Regions from separate parts of the Homo sapiens genome. Here regions 1, 2, 3, 4, 5 and 7 are each linked to region 6. Evidence: promoter capture Hi-C in 16 types of primary human blood cells and fetal thymus (Javierre and others, 2016). All regions are on one chromosome and are shown on one strand. Each heading gives the region's core, a stretch centred on a gene start or on the middle of the fragment in contact. The rest is flanking DNA. Distances are from core to core; before and after follow the strand shown. Region 1 overlaps MYNN (myoneurin). Region 2 overlaps EIF5A2 (eukaryotic translation initiation factor 5A2). Region 3 overlaps LRRIQ4 (leucine rich repeats and IQ motif containing 4). Region 4 overlaps LRRC31 (leucine rich repeat containing 31). Region 5 overlaps LRRC34 (leucine rich repeat containing 34). Region 6 holds the start of SKIL (SKI like proto-oncogene). Region 7 has its middle 2.6 kb from the start of MECOM.

Region 1 (2,700 bases), core at 154-2,653, 580 kb after region 6:
TCCAAACTGCTATTTTGCATCTGAATTACCTTATTTGAAAATCCCAGAATATCTGTGTAGGAAAGGTCCTAAGAAGTTTAAAAATCCATGTTCAACCCAAACCCACTCCCCAACCCTAACTATAGGAGATGACCCTTTAGGAAGCTGAAAAGGTTTTTATAAAGTCACAAAATGCATCTCAATGCAAGTTTATATAATATCAAAATTATCTCACTGATTTTAATGTGTAAGTTATATAATTTATTTCACCCACCTTGTATTATTCTAGAAAATAAGTCAGCTTTTATATTTAACAAATATGTGCAAAAATCATAAACATAGCTTATAGAAATATAAACAGATATCTAACTACAAAGTTTCCGATCTACTTCGCTAAAAGGCCCAAGTCCCCTTTTTCTTTTATTTATAACTTTATTTTAAGCAGTCTCTCCCTGTCAAACTTACCTGTATGTTTTCGAGAATGAGTGATAAGAGAACTAGAGACAGCAAATGCCTTCCCACAGGTATCACATACATAAGGCTTTTCTCCAGTATGCCTACGGACATGATAGGTCAGTGTGCTGGCTTGAGCAAATCTCTGTCCACACCTATCACAGACATATGGCTTCTCTCCACTATGCTTCCTGTTAGTAAATAAAGTTAAATAAGTAAAACAATTTGGAGGTCAGTCTATATAGCAAGAATTCATAAAGTTTTTTATAGATTTTATTTCATGTCATCTTAACAGGCCAAGACTATGTATTTAAAATCAGTAGTTGTTTCAGTGTAAACACTGCCAAAAACAAATATTTCTTATTATCAAAACATTAGTTCTGAGATCAGTTCAAAAAGTTTTTCCATGATCTTTATATGGTTGTCAGTGGGCCCCTAATACTGCAGGCAATTATTTTCATGAGTCTAGTCACTCTTTGACTTGTGAACTCTCTCCTCAAACCATCAGCATCTCCTTGCCCATTGTAACTCTCAGGTGACATCCCTGCTTCCTATTTCACTGAGAAAAATTCATATGACATGAGGGTGACAGTTCATCTGAATCCATCAATTCCAATTTGTATACTTGAGATCCTACTTAATGATATCACTTCTGCAGTTTCCCCAGTCCTACATCATCCATGTTTCTCACTCCATTGGATTATGGTATACAAATATACTGATGTCTCCCATATTAAAAAAAAACCAAAAACAAAACAAAGACCCTTGACCTTACTTGCTCCTCCATTCTCTGCTCCCCTTTACCAAAACCTTGAGACTCCAAGTGTTCTATCTACTTCCATTTCTTCTCTACTGGCCTCTACTAATGATACTTTTGTCAAGAGCACTGCTGACTTCCCACTTTACTAAATCCACGTCAGTTCTCAGTCTTCATCTCCCTATCACAGAATTTTACAATTGACCACTCCCATCTGGAATAACTTCCTTCACTTGGGATTCCAGGGCAGCCCTCTTTCCTGGTTTTCCTCCTCTACTGGCTGCTCCTTCCTAGTTACCTCTGCTGGTTCTCACCCATCTCTCAGAACTCATAAAGTTAGAGTGCCTCAGGGCCGTCTTTTGATTTCTTCTGTCCACATTCACTCTCTTGGTGACCTTAGCCAGGGTTACAGCTTTAAATACTGTCATATGCTGATGACTGCCAAACGCTAATGATTGCCAAACTGTTATCTTCAGCTCAAACCAGTCCCCTGAACTGCAGACTTAGATAACCAATTATCTATTGCACACCTCTATTCAGAAGTGTTAAGTCATCTCAAATTTAACACACACAGAACTGTACTCGTAAATTCCTGCACTTCCACTTAAACTGTTCTACCCACAAACCTTCTCTATCTCAGTTAATGGCAGCTCCATCTTTATAGGGGTTCAGGCCCAAAACCTCAGAATCATCTTTGACTCTCTTCCAGACTTCACATACAATCTGTTTGCAAATTCTATTATTTCTAACTTTAAAATATATCCAGAATCTACTACTACTTATTTCTTTCACTGCTGCCACCCTGGCCTGAACCACCATCACCCTTGCTTGGGTTTTATCTATAGATTCCTGTTTACCCTGATTCCACTCTTATAATCCTATACCAGTCAGAATGATCCTCTTAAGCTGCATTCTGGACCATTCTGATCTTACTTCTGGACGAGTCTGACCTTATTTCCTAGTAGTCCCCACCCCCTGCTTATTTCCTATCAACCACTGTGGCTTCCTTGTGGTTCCTTGAACGTGTTAACATTGTTTGGTGGAACCACAATTACAATTCTACTGTCCTGAATTCTAATATAATAGTCTATTCATAAGACTATGGTGATTAAAAGACTAAAAGATCAAACAACTCATTTGGTTTTTTACCTTGCATGAATCTTGAGATTGCTAGAAGTTGCAAACTGTAAGTTGCATACATCACATTTATAGGGTTTTTCTTCACCATGATGCATGCGACTATGGAAGACTAGCTGACATTTCTGAGCAAATCCTTTATCACACAATTCACATTTGTATGGCTTCTCACCTAAAGGAACAATAAAATTTATATTTAGAAGAAAATAGTGTTTTGGTTGCATAAGTCATATAAGATTTCATCAACAGTACTAGCTTTGTTATTAAGAAAATGTTAACTGTTGGAACTGAAAACAAATATAATCTTTTCCAGACCACTGAAAACACCAGTAGAATCAAAAGAAATTAGTGTTTCTGAATTCACGAGATAAATA
Region 2 (2,700 bases), core at 94-2,593, 550 kb before region 6:
TGACCTTGGAAGGAGGAGAAAAAGAATCTGTTGTAATCAGCATTGGTATTGTGCTCTTGTGTGTGTAATGAGTGATATACTTGGCAGAGATTAAACAGGTTTCCTGTTCTCCTCTGTTAGGTTCACCTTGTTGGAATTGATATTTTCACGGGCAAAAAATATGAAGATATTTGTCCTTCTACTCACAACATGGATGTTCCAAATATTAAGAGAAATGATTATCAAGTAAGCACTGATTTTCTTTAGAATGTTGCTTGTTTCTTCAAGGTGCAAATACTTTGTACTATCAGTAATAATTTGACAAAACCCAAGAGTAGTTTTGTAGGTTTTTCTAACCAATTATTAGGCACCAGCTATCTTAGAAATTGGAGAAATAGTGATGTTTAACACATGTACTTTTCTAGGATTATTGCTAGTTTGCTATTTTTTTCACATTCTTGCATTTTTTAAAAAGTCAAATACTTATTAGTGTTCTCAGGCCAAGTGACTGCATATTGCAATTAAGTCCAATGTTTAGTAAAAGTACTATTCTCTCTGTTGTAAAATATTTCTTGTTCTAATTTAAAACATCCCTCCTGGATGTTTTGTTTCTTTTCACTGATCAGACCTGAGACATTCAAGAAACTACTGAAATTCATGTTCCTACCAAGTTTTTGCATTAATGAATGTTAGTCAGAACTTGACATTCTTAAGTAGAGAAATAAGTTGAAAGCCATAAATATAAAGGATAAAGTACCTGGTCACTGAGTATGGTGAAGAAAACACAAAAACTATATAATTGGTTAAATTATACTTAGTGACCATGCTATGACCTTTTGCTAAATTATGTATGTAAATTTCAAGTTTTAGTTCCAGTTATACATTTGGGTAGGTCATATTTAATGATAGCATTTTGTTGTTTGAAGTATTGATGATAACAAAATAATTGACCTTATAGGATGTGGAAGCTCAGATTACTTATAACTAAAGCTTTTCTTGAAAGTCTTCAATTTCTGTATCAAGCATACCATATATCAAACTCATTTCTGCTCATTTTACATAGTGAAAAATACAAAGTTGACACTGGTATTTGTTTTATCCGACTTAAACTGATTTTTTTCTGTACCCTTTGTTGTATTGTATAAATTTCTTTTAATGTTGCTATCAACTGCACTTACGCAATGATTTCCTTTTGCTGTTTGTCCACATGCAAACATACTTTTTTGTGGTTTTAATCTAGTAAACACTTTTATATTTTCACTTTCCTACTTGTCATAAATGTTTTCTAGGTTGCTTTGAAGTCTTTGTAGAAATTTGAATTGTCTTGCAAGTGGGTTTTTTTAACCAGGTAGATCTGGGTTTGGATCTAGTTCTGTCACTTTCTAGTTGGATGATTTTGGACAAGTTATACACCTTTCTGAGCCTGTTTTCTCATCTACAAAATAGTGATAATAGGAGGATTAAATGAGAAAATGTACCCCATTAAGAACTCCATAAGTAGATACGTACCAAAAAGTGCTGTTCTGTTTCCCCCTTTTCCTATGTAAAAATTCTACTTAATCATTTCATTATTGTTGGAGCACCAACTTTGATGTGGTACATAGTAGGTGCTCGAAAAATATTTGTTAAATGTATATGTGATTACTGAATGTGGTAGAGATAGTACAGCAGGCTAAAGTTGAGCGTAGAATGTTGTCAAAATTGGGTTTCTCTTTTCGTCTTAAAGTATGAAAGCTTTGACTATTCAATATTAATTATATTCAGTAATATTCATTCAATATAGAATGCTTTTGCCTGTTGCATGTTTCAGAAAGATGGTATCAGCAGTTCAGATAATTACTATTATACTATGATAAGGTTAGCCAGTCATTGATTGGAGCTCAAGACTTAAAGGAAAAATTTGGTTTGGGTCCTAGACTAGGATGAGGCAAATGAAGTGAGGGAGGCTCTTGCCTCAGGCACAAAATTTTAAATAAAGACAGAACTAGTAACAATGACAAGCCATATAGGAGCTCAAGGCGCAAAGAAAATTAATTCTGATCCCATCTTTATTTAGAATTTTGGTATTTTATCATAGGATTTTTGCATTAATTCTAATTTTTTAAAATATTGCATTAAAATGCCTATCTGATCACTGAGGTTTTTTTGGTGCCTTCTTTAATTTTGCACCCAAGACAAGTGTCTTACTTCACCCTTGTCCCAACCCTTGGTATGTACTCCGCACTGCAAAGTGGATAAGAGGATGATTTAAGCCAGGCAGGCCTGGTCCTAGTCTTACTTTGGCACTTAATAGCTGTGTGACCTTGGTTGACAAGTTACTTAACCTGTTTTGCTTCCATTTCTTTCTTTATAAAGCAGAGACATAAATAATAACGCCTCATGGGATCATTTTGAGGTTTAATTAGTTAATACAACAACGCCTGGCATAGAAAGTATTCAGTATTTCTCTGCTCTTCATTTTCAAGTCAGCATAGAAAAATAACTTATTTCTGTTAATTGTTTAAAAAACTAGTTCTCCAACCTGGGCAATGTGGTGAGACGCCATCTTTACAAAATACAGAAAAAAAAAAATTAGCGAGGCATGGTGGTGTACACAGCTGTAGTCCCAGCAGACCCAGAGGCTGAGGTGGGAGGATCACTTGAGCCTTGGGAGGTCAAGGCTGCACTAAGCTGTGATCACTCCACTGCACTCTAGCCTGGGCGACAGAGTGGGACCCTGTC
Region 3 (2,700 bases), core at 143-2,642, 530 kb after region 6:
CGCGATCTCGGCTCACTGCAAGCTCCGCTTCCCGGGTTCACGCCATTCTCCTGCCTCAGCCTCCCGAGTAGCTGGGACTACAGGCGCCCACCACCACGCCCGGCTAATTTTTTGTATTTTTAGTAGAGACGGGGTTTCACCATGTCAGCCAGGATGGTCTCGATCTCCTGACCTCGTGGTCCGCCCGCCTAGGCCTCCCAAAGTGCTGAGATTACAGGCATGAGCCACCGCACCCGGCGAAAAAATCTCATTCTTAAAATATGTGACAATCACCCTATTGACTGTGTTACAGAGATGCCTTATTTTCTCGTAGAAAAAAATCCCAGCTATATAGCTCAACAGCTCCTTAACTCATATGTTCCTTTATCTGGCTTAATTCCTAACTGGGAAATCCTTCCCCACAGTTCCCTGCTTGAGCCCATGGGCATTCTTCCCATCCATTCCCTAGTCAGCCACCCTACTTTCATTCTGGCTAGAGCTCAGCTGAGCCACTCCCACCCCCACCTCTCTATGGATGGGTGGAATAGACAGGTAATTGGTGAATGGGTCACTTACAGTTGGAGAAAAAGAAAGTTCACTGAGGACAACCTATCTGTAAAAGTTTCACATACTTGGAATCTTCCATAATGCATTTTTCTCTTTTTTGTGTAGAGTAAGGACTCATTTTCCTAAAAATGCTGTAACAGTTTTCCAGTTTTATTTATTTACCTATTTATTTTAATTAGATGAAGTCAATCTTTGGAGAAACTGATGTTTAAGCTTTCCTCTTTGGCTATTTCAAAATTCTTCATCAAGCACTTAGATGTCTTCAATACAAAATGCCTGCATTCTGTGCAGTCCAAAACAATGAAAAAAGATTTTTCAATCTAACCATTTTATTATAACCTAGAAATTTCATTCTTATTGCTGTTCACTTAACTCATAAAAGCTTAGCTTTTCTTTTTCAAAGCACATTGAATGTTCAAAAATTTTTTTTAGGAGTATTTAAGATCCAGTAGTTAGTTTCATCATAGTCATAGTAAAGTATAATGAGAAGAAATCTAGATGTATAGAAAATCTGTAGAGCATTAGATGAGGACAATTACTGATGACACTGTAACTGACATATAGCCATTTTGGGATCTGGTACATTGTTTTGGTTTTTTCCTTTTTCTTTTTCTTTTTTTTTTTTTGAGGCGGAGTTTCACTCTTCTTGCCTCGGCTGGACGGCAATGGTACAATCTTGGCTCATTGCAACCTCTGCCTCCTGGGTTCAAGCGATTCTCCTGCCTCAACCTCCCGAGTAGCTGGGATTACAGGTGCCCACTACCATGCCCGGCTAATTTTTGTATTTTTAGTAGAGATGGGGTTTCGCCACGTTGGCCAGGCTGGTCTCAAACTCCTGACCTCAGTTGATCCACTCGCCTCATCCTCCCAAAGTGTTGTGATTACAGGCGTGAGTCACCGCACGTGGCCTGCTTTTCTCCTTTAATAGAAGTATACTCTACAAATAAAATCCATCTAGGTACACATTGAAAATCAGATATTTTTTGCATGCACACAGGCAAGTAGAAGCTACTGGTTAGGCTTTAAGAGCTAGTAACCCATGAGTTGAGTCTTTGGGGAGGGAGAGATAATGAGCTGGCTTAAAGGCCATGTTTCATTGAGGAGAGAAATGCATTGGAAGGTGGTATTAGCATAAGAGGAAATTGAGAAGGGAGGACAAATGCACACACACACACAAAACCCATCAGAATAACTGAAGAGGAAAAAGCACTGGTACACAGAGATTGTCATGTTCAATACAATAATATTTAACATGTCTACATTTCAGTGCAGTTTGACTTGTGCTAAAACTTGGTATTGGATGAAGCTTATTTTTGTTAACAAGCAGTCTGTGTGTGATTTGCTCCTTTGATTTCTTAAAATTTCTCTCAGAAAAGGATTAGGTATTATTCATGGCTCAGTATAATGTGTTATCCCTCCCACATGTACTTTATATTTTAAGTCTTTCACTCCAACTGCAGAATGACTGACTTAGTCCACTAAAAGGAATTTCTTACATCAGCAGTGGAATAGTTCAGGGCCGGGCTCTCACGGAACCTCAAAAATCCTCCAAGGTGAGTTGCTACATCAGTGGAGATTAAGTCCTAGAATCTCGACCTAAATCTACAAGTTACCATCAAAATGTTTACTTCCTGAAAGGCAGCTTTAAAACCCCATAGCAATTTGGGGAAAAAAGTTCTAGAAATAAAAAATCAAATAAAAGATTTTTTTAGCAGCCGGGCACAGTGGCTCACGCCTGTAATCCCAGCACTTTGGGAGGCTGAGGTGGGCAGATCATGAGGTCAGGAGTTTGAGACCAGCCTGGCCAATATGGTGAAACCCTGCCTCTACTAAAAATACATAAATTAGCCGGGCGTGGTGGCAGGCACCTATAGTCCCAGCTACTCGGGAGGCTGAGGAAGGAGAATCGCTTGAACCTGGGAGGTGGAGGTTGCAGTGAGCTGAGATGGCGCCATTGTACTCCAGCCTGGGCAACAGAGCGAGAGCTCATCTCAAAAAAAAAAAAAAAAAGATTTTTAAAAATAAATCCGTAAGGCCCAGGACTTTTATAATTTATAGGGAACACATGAGACTGGTGTCCATGGCCAGGTAAAGCAGACCTATTATTTGATTATAGTTGTTGATTTCCAAATTCCCCTTTTTACTCCCTCTACA
Region 4 (2,700 bases), core at 31-2,530, 510 kb after region 6:
ATTCTTGCCTTGCTTCCAGTCTTAGTCCCCTAAGCTAAGGGGAAAAGCATTCCATTTTTCACCATTAAGTATGATGTTAGCTATAGGTTTTTTTGTAGCTACCCTTTATCAGGTTAAGGAATCCTAATTTGCTAAGAGTTCTTATAACGAATTTTGTCAAATTATATTTTTCTGCATCTATTGAGATGAGCATTTAAAAAAACTATAGTTCATTAATATTCATAATAATAATGAATGATAATAATTAATAATATTAGCTGATTTTTTAATGTTAAATCAGCCTGGTCATGGTCATTATGTATTATCTTGTTTATATAGCGTTGGATGTTATTTGCTAATATTCTGTTGAGGATATTTGTGCCTATGTTCACAAGGGGATAATAGTCTACTGGTTTTCTTATAATGTCTTTGTCTGGCTTTGTTATGAGGGTATAGGTAGCCTCATACAATGAGTTGGAAAGTGTTCCTTCCTCTTTTATTTTCCAGAAAGATTGTGTAAAATTGGTATTATTTATTGCTCAACTGTTTCACAGAATTCACCACTGAAGCCATCTAAACTTGGAATTTTCTTTGTGGGATATTTTAAATTACGAATTCAATTTAAAAAATAGAGATAGAAAAAAAATAGAGCTAGGACTATTCCAGTTGTCTATTTCTTCTTAAGCAAGTTCTGATAGTGTCTTTTAAGAAATTGGCCCATTTCATCTAGGTTGTTGAATTTATGGAAATAAAGTTGTTTCCTTGTTATCCTTTTACTGCCCATAGTGATACCACCTGTCTCATTCCTGATATTGATAATTTGTGTTTCTATCTCTTTATTCTTGGCTAGTCTGACCAAAGGTATTAGTTTTCTGTTGCTGTGTAACATGTTAATTTGTGGATTAAAACAATATCCATGTATTTGTTCACAGTTCTTTTTAAAAGCTTATATAAATGTGAGGGGCACCAGTGCAGTTTTGTTCCATGCGTATATTGTAGTGGTGAAGTCTGGGGTGCTGATGTAACCATCACCCAAATGAATAATGCATCATTAAGTAATTTCTCATCCCTCACCCGGCTCACAGTTCTGTAGGTAAGAAGTCTGACACAGCTTGTGTCGGTTCTCTGTGTAGGGTATTACAACACTAAAATCAAGGTGTCAGCCTGGCTGAGTTCTCATCTGAAGGCTCTAGGAATAAATCCACTTTCAAGCTCATTCTTGTTGACAGAGTCGAGGACCTTGCAGCTTTAGGACTGAGGGTCCCGTTTTCTTGCTAGCTCTCAGCTGGGGGCTGCTGTCAGCTACTAGAGGCCAGCCACATTCCTTGATACATGGCCCCTCATTTTCAAGACAGGAGTGGATTGTCCGTGCCTCTCACACTTTAAATCTCTCTGACTTCTGTGACTTCCTTCCTCTTCTGCCAGCAGTAGGAGGAAATTCTCTCTGCTTTTAAAGGGCTCATGTGATTAGGTTGACTCCATATGGATAATCTCCCTTTCTTAAAGTCAGGTGTGCCATATAGCCTAAGCTAATTCTGGGAGCAAAATCTACCACATTCAGTCCTGGGGATACAATGGAAATCTTAAGGTGGCTATTTAGAATTCTGACTACTGCAAGGGGTTTATTGATGTTGTGTCTTCTAAAAAATAAGCTTTTGATTTTTATTTATTTATTTCTCTGAATTAGACACCATTAAATATATTTAAGTTATTTTATTTAATGTTTATAATTAAAATTTGCTTCTTCATTTCGGTCTTTTTTATTTTTGTCTGCATCAAATTTTATTCACCATGTCTTCAGCCATTGTATATTTTTTCTTAATTTTTACTGACAGTTTTTTTCTCAGGTCAAATTTATACTTTTACATTTTATCAGGGTATATTTTCCTTCTTTGAATTTTTACTCAATAACAAGTATTACAGGCCAGGCATGGTGGCTCACGCCTGTAATCCCAGCACTTTGAGAGGACAAGGCAGGTGGATCACCTGAGGTCAGGAGTTCGAGACCAGCCTGGCCAACATGGTGAAACCCTGTCTCTACTAAAAGTACACAAATTAGCTGGGCATGGTGGCAGGTGCCTGTAATCCCAGCTACTCGAGAGGCTGAGGCAGGAGGATCACTTGAACCCGGGAGATGGAGGTTGCAGTGAGCTGAGATTGCGCCATTGCACTCCAGCCTGGGCAAGAGAGCAGACTCCATCTCAAAAAAACAAAAACAACAACAGCAACAAAAAACAAGTATTACTATATGTGGTTTTAGCAATTGTCACTTTTATATTTTTTCTAATAGAAACATTAAAAATTTGTTAATCACTAGCTTATATACATTTTAAAAATAATTAATGGCATTTATTTTTTCATACAGTAAACTATAAAGAGTATACCCATGGCCTACATTTCCCCTACCTAGATTTTTTAAAATGTAATAAATCTAAAATAATAAAATATAATAAAATAGGGTGCTCACATTATAAAATCCAAACAAAAAATAAATTTATTTATTTATGTATTTTATTTTATTTTTTTCTGAGAGGGAGTCTTGCTGTGTCACCCAGGCTAGAGTGCAGTGGCACGATCTTGGTTCACTGCAACCTCCACCTCCTGGGTTCAAGCAATTCTCCTACCTCAGCCTCCCGAGTAGCTGGGATTACAGGTGCCCGCCACCATGCCCAGCTCATTTTTGTATTTTTAGTAGAGACGGGGTTTCACTATCTTGGCCAG
Region 5 (2,700 bases), core at 168-2,667, 560 kb after region 6:
CAGTAAGCTGCTTGCTGGAGACAGAAAGATGAGTAAAAATGTGGTTCCTACTTTCATGACTTCTTTCTCCTTCTGGGTGGCTTTCTTCTCCTATCACTTGTAAACAGCTAGAGAATAAGAACTCATGTTATTATTGGTATAAACAAAAACATATATCTAACTATTAGGAAAAGTAAATGGTCAAAGCACTTTATAAAGTTCAATGTTTAAAATTTAATGTTTGGCCGGGCACGGTGGCTCACGTCTGTAATCCCAGCACTTTGGGAGGCTGAGGCAGGCAGATCACCTGAGGTCAGGAGTTTGAGACCAGCCTGGCCAACATGGCAAAATCCAGTCTCTACTAAAAGTACAAAAATTAGCCAGGCATGGTGGCAGGTGCCTGTAATCCCAGCTACTTGGGAGGCTGAGGCAGGAGAATCGCTTGAACCCAGGAAGCAGAGGTTGCAGTGAGCCGAGATTGCACCACTGCACTCCAGCGTGGGCGACAGAGCGAGACTTCATCTTCATCTCAATCAATCAATCAATCAATCAATCAATCAATGTCAGTGTTTGAATTCTCAACTTTATTTTTCTTTTTTGAGATGAGGTCTCACTCTGTCACCCAGGCTGGAGTGCGGTGGCATGATATCGGCTCACGGCAGCCTCCACCTCCTGGCCTCAAGTGATCCTCCCACCTCAGCTTCCTGAGTGGCTGGGACCACAGGTATGCACCACCATGCCCACCTAAATTTTTTTGTATTTTTGGTAAAGACAGGGTTTTGTCATGTTGCCCAGGCTGGTCTTGAACTCCTGAGCTCAAGCTATCTGCCTGCCTTGGCCTCCCAAAGTGCTGGGATGACAGGCATCAGCTACCATGCCCAGCCAAACTCTGAACTTTTTAAATGATTAAAGCACTTTAGATAATTTAAAATTATCTACTTCATTGTTCCCCCTTAGTATGAATCACTGAGAATTAATGATATTTTTAAAGTAGTATTCTCATATTCAGAAGTGTATTTTACATTCTTTGCCTACATAGATCTCTCCCTTTGAGTTATCGCTGCACTTTTTGGTACCAGAATTTTTGTGGTTTTACATCACGTTGTTTCATGTACGTAAATCCAATCTGTTCAACAAGACACTCAGAATCTTCAAATAGATTCCTATTTTAAAAATACTTAAAAGACTAGCAAAATACAGCTCAAAGTAGGCATGCAGTGAATTGCTTCACTCATGATTCATTCACACCATGAATATTTGAATGCAACCTTAAACAAGACACAATGCTAGCGAGGTGCTAGAGGTATTAAAGTCAAATAAATTACATAGCACTTGTCTTCAGTGAGTTTTCCATCTAGGTGGAGGGAGCTTGACAAGTCTGGAGAGTGATATGCCCGGGGTGCCATGGGGACATAAGGAGGGTAATCAGAATCAAAGCAGGGGAGGTGAGTGTGGTAGGGAGGTTCTCAGATTGAGGACATGACAGGAGATTCGAGGGCTAAATACATTTCTGGATTTTATCTCTGTGGAAATATGTTTATATATAGGAGATCACATTATAAGCATGATCCCTTTTTAAAATATGTTGAGTGGTGTCATTCCTAAATCCACCTGAGGATGCTTATTATTAAAAGCCCAGGCCCCCTTGTTGCTCTCAGCTTGGTGCTTCTGGCAGCCAGCTAGGTGCTAGTCTGTTTTGTTCTTCTCCAGGACAGCCACTACCTTCTCTATCCCCAAGGGTACTATTCTGCTCTTAAATTGCTGTTCCCAAATACAAACCTGCAAATCTATTCCATGTACGGGTTTTACTGTTTTATTACCGTGGAGGAATGGGATAACAAAAAGCTGTTAAGATGTTGGACTTCACCTTTAATGCTCATTGGCATTATCCGGGGAGCTTGAAAAATACTGATGCCAGGTGCCACTCTAGACAAATCAAGTCACAAACTCAGTGAATGGGGCTAAAACCCTTTACTATTTCTGACAATAGTTCCTCCCTTAATTAGGATACTCCTGCTTTCAAGCGTTGTAGCCTAAAACTGCAATCAAGGCCCAAACACAAAAACGTACTGAGTTTGTCCTCTGTGCCTGGCACTAGGAAGAGCAATAGTGGAACCCCCTAAGTGGTTGGTTTGCATTTTTTTACGTTCCTAGACTACATAGCATCCCTTTAGCATGGTTGGCGTGCATTTTTAAAGATCCTAGTCTACATAGCATTCCTTTGGGTGTATCTTTTCAGTGTCAAAGCAATTTCAGCAAATACAGAATTACAGAATATTGAACAATAATAAATGCTTTGTAGGCTGCTTATGGAACACTTATTTTGTGCTAGGTACCTTTTATTAGTTAACTTATTTCTGTGAGGGAAGCATAATTTCAGCTACTTTACTAAAATGGAAACTGAGACTCAGCTAGATGAAAATATTTGCCCAAAGTCATATAGCCAGTAAAAGGTAGAGCTAGTATCTGACAGACTTGATTTTTATAAAGCTCATGTACTTTCTGCTATTGCTATGTGGTTTCATTTAAAGTTTTTTTCAAAGTACCTTTATATATAACAAGAACACATATAGTTATCTGTGTTCATCATCAGCATTTCCAGTGACTAAAAAACTTATTATGTTATACAGCAATCATGCAAGAGTACTTCTTGTCACAAAATACTTTGGGCCATTCATTTGAAAATATGCTTTGATTTTACTAAAAACTTAAAATGCCTGG
Region 6 (2,700 bases), core at 114-2,613:
AAGGGAGGGAAAAAAATCCATTACTTCATCTCCTATTTAAAAACAAAACAACAGTTTCATCCAAAAAAATCAGATAGGAGTTAACATATCTACCATATGTAACTAAGTTACAATTTTAAGTGGATTAATTCAGCTAGTCCGTGTACACTATTTTTCTGGAATGACTGCAGGCAAAAATTAACTTTCTCTTAAAAAAAGGTTAGCGATTTTACTTAATGGAAGCCAAAAGCTATAGACTCCACGCCTGGGAATCTCCATCCTTCAACAAGACTAATCCGGGACAAAAAGCACAAGGCAGACAAACCTCACAAAGAATGCAAATGGAGGAAGAGGGAAAAAGAAAAGACTCTTTTTCCACTTCCTTCTTGAGAGAAAAGCCAAAAGAAATCCAATAAATAGAAATTTTTGCTTCCCAAACTCTCAGCACTTTACCTTAAAACAGACCCAAAGGATTAAGGACCAATGCCACCAACCATCGTACAGACTTTCGTCCACCACAGGAACACACCTTACTCAACACAGGCCAAGGAAGAGAGCAAGAGGCATGACCTAGAATGGGGGAGCCCCTAAAACCCTGAAGTCCTCCGCCCACTCAAAGCCACCCACCTATCTCTAACCCGGAGAGAGGGAGAACAAGGGACACGGGAAGCCTGGGGGTGGGTGTGCAAGGGGGTGGAGGGAAGTAAAGGGAGGAGTCCCCCCACCCCCACCGGCGAGCCTGGGATAACCCCAAGTGCCCTCCCAACACCGCCCCCCCGCGGGGGCCGCGGGAAGGACTGTGGAAATCCACCCCCCCGCGCACCCTCTCCCTGGGAAGTTCTCGGGTGTCACCTCAGCGCCCCTAATGCTGCACCTCCCCGCGCCAGCCCCGGGCCAGAACGAAGAGGACACCAGGGCAGTTTAGGCGCCGGGCGCGGATCCCTGCGCCGCCGGGGGCTGACGGACCGGGTCGAGACCAGGGCATCCCCGCGGAGCGCTGCTGGACTGGGGGAGGGGGGCGGTGACGGGCGTCCGGGTCTCCGGGGTCCCCGCGGCTCCCGTCAACTACAGCGCCCTGCCCTGCCGGCGCCCACCGCCTGGGGCCAACGAAGCGTGATCAGCCGTGGAACACCCGCCTAGCGACCCCCTCTGGCCCCGACCCCACCCGGGACCCGCGCATCCAAACCCCCTACTCGGGCCTCGGTGCCCGGGTAAGCTCGACGAGCTTTGTGAATTCCCCACCGCCCCTGTCGCCGCCGTCGGGCTCCTAGGAGGGTGAGCGCCTCTGGCCTCCCGCCGCCTCCGCCGCGTCGCCGCCGTAAGCCGGAGCCGCACCTGTGCCCGCCGCCGCCGCCGTCGCCGCTCGCCCGCTCCCTTCGGCTGTGCCGGCGCGGCTCCGAACCCCACACACATCGCTACACACAGCCCTCTGACGTCACCGAGTCCTCGGCCCGCCCACGTCACTGCGGAGACACACAGCTTCCCGCAGACGCCGCCGCCGTCTCCGGCCGCCCGGGGGAGAGCGAGGGCGGCGGGGAGGGGGAGGGGAAGGGAACGGAGCCAGCGGCGGCGCCGCGCGCGCGGGCCCGCCGGCGTCGTCGCCGCCGCCGCCACTTCGCGGCTCCCGGCCCCCTCGTGGACGCGCGTGCCGTCTGGCCTATTGTGGCTCCTCAGAGCGCCCCCCTGGCCCCGTCGTCTCGCGCGCGTGCCCCTCCCCCCAGGCGCGCGCCCGGCGCTTCTGGCCCCGCGCGCCGTCTGGGAAGCTGGCGCGCGGCGCTGTCTGCGGTGCACCCGGCGCAGACAGGATGTTCCCTCCCCACCCCACCCTCACCGCCGCCCTCCCTCCTTCCTTCCTCTAGTCGCCCAGCCGGCTGTCTGGGGCCACCGCCCCGCCCCCGCCCCACCCGCCGCTCTGTGGTGATGGGCCAGACGCGGGGGCGCCCTGGCCGCTCGGACGCCGCGCAGCGGGGAAGAGGGGGCAGGGCAGCCGCGCGGTGCACTGTGCGCGACCCCAGCAGCCGGCAGGGCGGAGGCAGTGCCCGCCCGGCAGAGTGCCGCCGCCCGAGGTCAGGCACGGGCGACCCTCCCCCTGCGGGGCCGCAGCTGGGCCGCCCCGCCCCGGAGGCAGCCGGGCGGCGGCCGCCCTGCAGGGCCCCCGGGGCCGGCTCTGCTCCCCGCCCCCGCGGGACCTCCCTCCTGGGCTGCCCCTCGCCCCCGCGGGGCCTCCTGCCCGAGGGCCGCCCAGCCAGCTGCCGGCGCTCCGCCCCGCCCCGGCGGCCCCGGCCTCGCCCGGGCGGCCTCCACCCAGACGCCTTCCCCTGGCTGACCTCCATCCGCCATCGGGCCGGGCGGGAGGGGTGGCCAAAGTTCCGGCAAAACCGAGAGCAAACATTTCTGTCCCTACTCCCCAGCCTCCTGCCTCCACCCCACCAGGCTGCTCTCTCGGTTCCAGAAGGGAGCTATAAATTAAAGGTTTTTACAGTGTTTACTGAGGGTGTTTTTTTGTGTGTGTGTTTTTTTGGAGAGGGACGAGACGAGGTAGGGAAGATAGGACTCAAGAGCTTTCCGGCTGTGACCCTCTGAGGCGTGTAGGGTGGTCTTCCTGGTTCCCAGGGTAGCCGATTAGCATATTGAACTCTGCAGAGCTGCTCCGTCACATTTCGAAACACCAAGAAATCCCCTTTTCTCCACCCCACCACAAGATCAGGAACTGAAATAGTC
Region 7 (2,700 bases), core at 172-2,671, 690 kb after region 6:
GCCACCGAGGTCAGCGTATAATAAAGTGTGTATTTTGAAAGCGATCTCCAGAACAGTGAGTTATTGCAATGAATGAAAATTGTTTCCATTTTGGCTAATTGAGCCGGTGGCCGAAAGCTGGAGCCCTGAGACTAAATAAAGAGGACTGTTTCATTTCAACATGAAGAAACCCCTGCCTAGCTCTGGTCACCCAGCGAGAGTTTAATTTCTTAACAGCCAACCTGAAACCCAGCATTGGGTAAACAGTATTAATAATTGCATTACAATGATTAAATTAATCTTGCTGGTAGCCAGGAGAATATAGGTTGTGATTGAATAGCATGATGTAAAGTTCACTGCACAAAGACAATAGGCCTCGAAATACCTCCATAAAGAATTCAAACTTTCTTCCAAAGATACCGTGGGGCCGGTTCAATTAAAATGAGAGGAAAGGAAAACTTCCTGTTGCATGTAATGTATTGAAAATCGGTTATTTGCCATTTCTAACATTAATTTAAAAAATATAGTTGGGGAAGGGATATACTTGTCTGTGTCTTTCTCATCAATGTCCCATTTTCCTTCTAACTTCTATCTCAATCTCTTCACTTCTGCTAAACAAACAAAAACACGAAACAAAAAGTGACAGCAATAAAACAAGCAAACCCAGACAGTCTGTAAACCCATCGACTTTCCAACGAGGCACTGCTTCCAGGATGCTCGCTTCCGTGGGAGAAAACACAAGGAAACGTTGGAATGCATGCTACTGTCCCCCAAGAAAACGAATTTCAGGAGGAGAGGGAAAGGCGAGAGGTGGGGTGGGGGCGGGTAGCTAGGGCAGCTCCGCCAACTTGTTGGAGGCCTCTTTTCTCTTGGGCCAGCGACAGCTCAGACATCCCGTCAGAGGGTGTCGGGAACTCTAGGGGCTGCTGAACAGTCACCTGCTCTGGTCTCACGGCTGGGACTGGGACAGGTGGAAGTGACAGGGTCCAGGCACTTGAGAATGGGAACCGGCCGGGGCGGACGCGCAGAGGTCGCGGCGCTATCAGCCGCGAGCGCGACCGGTTGCTGCTGGGTGTTTGCTCCATCAGGTTAAACACACTTGAACTAGCAACTTAGCTCTTTATTAGCGCACACTTAGGGCAGAAAGCTAATGATAAAGAAAGAAAAAGAAAAGGAGAGAAAAGGAAAAGAAGCCCAGCTTTTAGGTTTGAAAATAAAAAACGAATGATATTGAGAATACTTTTATTTATTTAAAAGACGATGTCTTGTCTTTTCACAATGGCTTGGTCTGGGGACAGAGAAGAGTTTGCGTTTATTATTTGTTAGAAGGGGTTGGATTTTCTCGTGGCCCGAAACTGTTAGAAAGACCAGGGAGAAAGCTGGAGCGCTGAAGCGACAGCGGAGACTTCAAACCAGAAGGGGAGGGGTACTCCAGCCGCGCCTCATTCCGCCTCCCACTCCGCCAACCCCCCTTCTAGAAAAGTTTAAAAGACGGGGACCTTTAAATTTGGAGGTTCGGAGACTCCGATTCACTTCAGTCTTCCACCTCCCACCCAGTTCCCCTCACAGAACCCACCCCCTACCTCCCCAACCCTCCACGTGGTTTATAATTTCTCAGCAGCAACAGCAAGCTCAGCTTCACATGTGGGTCTTGCATTTAATCTCAGAGTTTGGTACCTTGGTCCCCTCCTTTCCTAGGAACATTTCTTGCACCCCTCTTAACCTCCCGTCTCCAAGGGAACCTAGACATAGACAGACCCCCTGGGGATGAGGTGAAAGGGATTAGCCGGAGGAGTGGAGGGGAGGATGGCGGTTCTTTTCTTTTTTCTTTTCTTCTCTTTCTTTTTTTTTTTTAAGCTACCTTGGCGGTTGGGCACCAAGGCAAGGTGCTCAGCCACCCCTGGGGTGCCTGGCAGGGAAGGTGAGGATTGGAGGGACAAGACCTAGATTTTGACAGCTGGGATCTTCAGGTGCTGCTGGTCTGTCCCCTGGCCTAGGGGATGGTCCCTAGAGAGTCTCTTACACCGATCAGAAGCAGCCTTATGAACTTCTTGCCAGTCAGCCTAGTGTTTGTCTCTCCCTAGAGATTTTGTCCCCCCTTCCAAAGCCTCTCAAGACCCATTTCTCCGTTTCCTCGGAGGACATTTGCTGGTCAGAGGGTAGGCACCTCTCCATCTAAACTGAGGGAAGCTGGTGGAGTCACATTTTGGGGGAAGTTTCAGAGTCAAAGACCTGTGTGAACCTAACAGAATGTTGGAATGGCTGGTGCTTTTGCACACACCAAATGTGTTAGCACACTCACCTTTATGCACAGGACAGCGGGAATTCTAGGTCTGGAAAAAAACCCAGGTGCCTCTTTAATTCAGAGTGGATAATAGAGTTCTCTTGTGCCCACGCGTGTGGGCACTAGAGCCTTCTCTTTTGGAAGTTGTTTTACTCCTGTTGTGAGTAATTCCCTCCTTTACCTTCCTACTTCCCTTCCTCACATTTCAACCTTATACATCTGTCTCCCTTGAGACCTGTAGCTTGGTTCTCCAGGGACCTCTATCTTACAGCCAAATGCCCCCAGAATTACACAGCTCTGGATAAAGGAAAATGGTAGGCATCCTTAACAAGGACAAATTCTTTGAACTTTGATTCTCTTGAATAAAGAGATTTGCAGGCCATTGATACCCTTTGGGGTTGAACCTTGTTATTTGCTCTCTCATGTCTGCAGTCCTA

What was found. Contacts are between HindIII fragments. The CHiCAGO score rates a contact against its expected background, and 5 or more counts as called.
Region 1: a contact is called between a fragment that was not itself captured here and the fragment with the promoter of SKIL in region 6, in 1 of 17 cell types (total CD8 T cells). The highest score is 6.1, in total CD8 T cells.
Region 2: a fragment that was not itself captured here is called in contact with the fragment with the promoter of SKIL in region 6 in 7 of 17 cell types (naive CD8 T cells, activated CD4 T cells, total B cells and 4 more); the score reaches 9.7 in naive CD8 T cells.
Region 3: a fragment that was not itself captured here is called in contact with the fragment with the promoter of SKIL in region 6 in 1 of 17 cell types (total B cells); the score reaches 6.6 in total B cells.
Region 4: a contact is called between a fragment that was not itself captured here and the fragment with the promoter of SKIL in region 6, in 2 of 17 cell types (total B cells and naive B cells). The highest score is 6.6, in total B cells.
Region 5: a fragment that was not itself captured here is called in contact with the fragment with the promoter of SKIL in region 6 in 2 of 17 cell types (fetal thymus and naive B cells); the score reaches 7.5 in fetal thymus.
Region 7: a contact is called between a fragment that was not itself captured here and the fragment with the promoter of SKIL in region 6, in 1 of 17 cell types (total B cells). The highest score is 5.2, in total B cells.

The regions. Positions count from the first base shown.
Region 1 is chr3:169,780,388-169,783,087 of GRCh38, reverse strand. It overlaps MYNN (myoneurin), which reads right to left. Exons shown (of 8, transcript NM_018657.5): 4 at 2,339-2,498; 5 at 445-623. Among named protein-coding and RNA genes, the nearest start is that of MYNN, 8.3 kb to the right of the region's middle. The HindIII fragment of the contact is 3,421 bases long and covers 1-2,700 here.
Region 2 is chr3:170,904,514-170,907,213 of GRCh38, reverse strand. It overlaps EIF5A2 (eukaryotic translation initiation factor 5A2), which reads left to right. Exons shown (of 5, transcript NM_020390.6): 3 at 121-225. Among named protein-coding and RNA genes, the nearest start is that of EIF5A2, 2.8 kb to the left of the region's middle. The HindIII fragment of the contact is 744 bases long and covers 972-1,715 here.
Region 3 is chr3:169,824,865-169,827,564 of GRCh38, reverse strand. The region is part of intron 2 of LRRIQ4 (leucine rich repeats and IQ motif containing 4); the gene reads right to left. Among named protein-coding and RNA genes, the nearest start is that of LRRC34, 13 kb to the right of the region's middle. The HindIII fragment of the contact is 924 bases long and covers 931-1,854 here.
Region 4 is chr3:169,841,852-169,844,551 of GRCh38, reverse strand. The region is part of intron 8 of LRRC31 (leucine rich repeat containing 31); the gene reads left to right. Among named protein-coding and RNA genes, the nearest start is that of LRRC31, 27 kb to the left of the region's middle. The HindIII fragment of the contact is 707 bases long and covers 927-1,633 here.
Region 5 is chr3:169,797,535-169,800,234 of GRCh38, reverse strand. The region is part of intron 7 of LRRC34 (leucine rich repeat containing 34); the gene reads left to right. Among named protein-coding and RNA genes, the nearest start is that of LRRIQ4, 14 kb to the left of the region's middle. The HindIII fragment of the contact is 4,437 bases long and covers 1-2,700 here.
Region 6 is chr3:170,356,378-170,359,077 of GRCh38, reverse strand. SKIL (SKI like proto-oncogene) reads right to left here and starts at 1,363. Exons shown (of 7, transcript NM_005414.5): 1 at 1,315-1,363. RefSeq lists silencers at 781-850, 941-1,070, 1,121-1,350, 1,511-2,410 and an enhancer at 2,691-2,700. The HindIII fragment of the contact is 9,771 bases long and covers 1-2,700 here.
Region 7 is chr3:169,664,920-169,667,619 of GRCh38, reverse strand. No RefSeq gene overlaps it. Among named protein-coding and RNA genes, the nearest start is that of MECOM, 2.6 kb to the right of the region's middle. RefSeq lists an enhancer at 471-987. The HindIII fragment of the contact is 4,531 bases long and covers 1-2,700 here.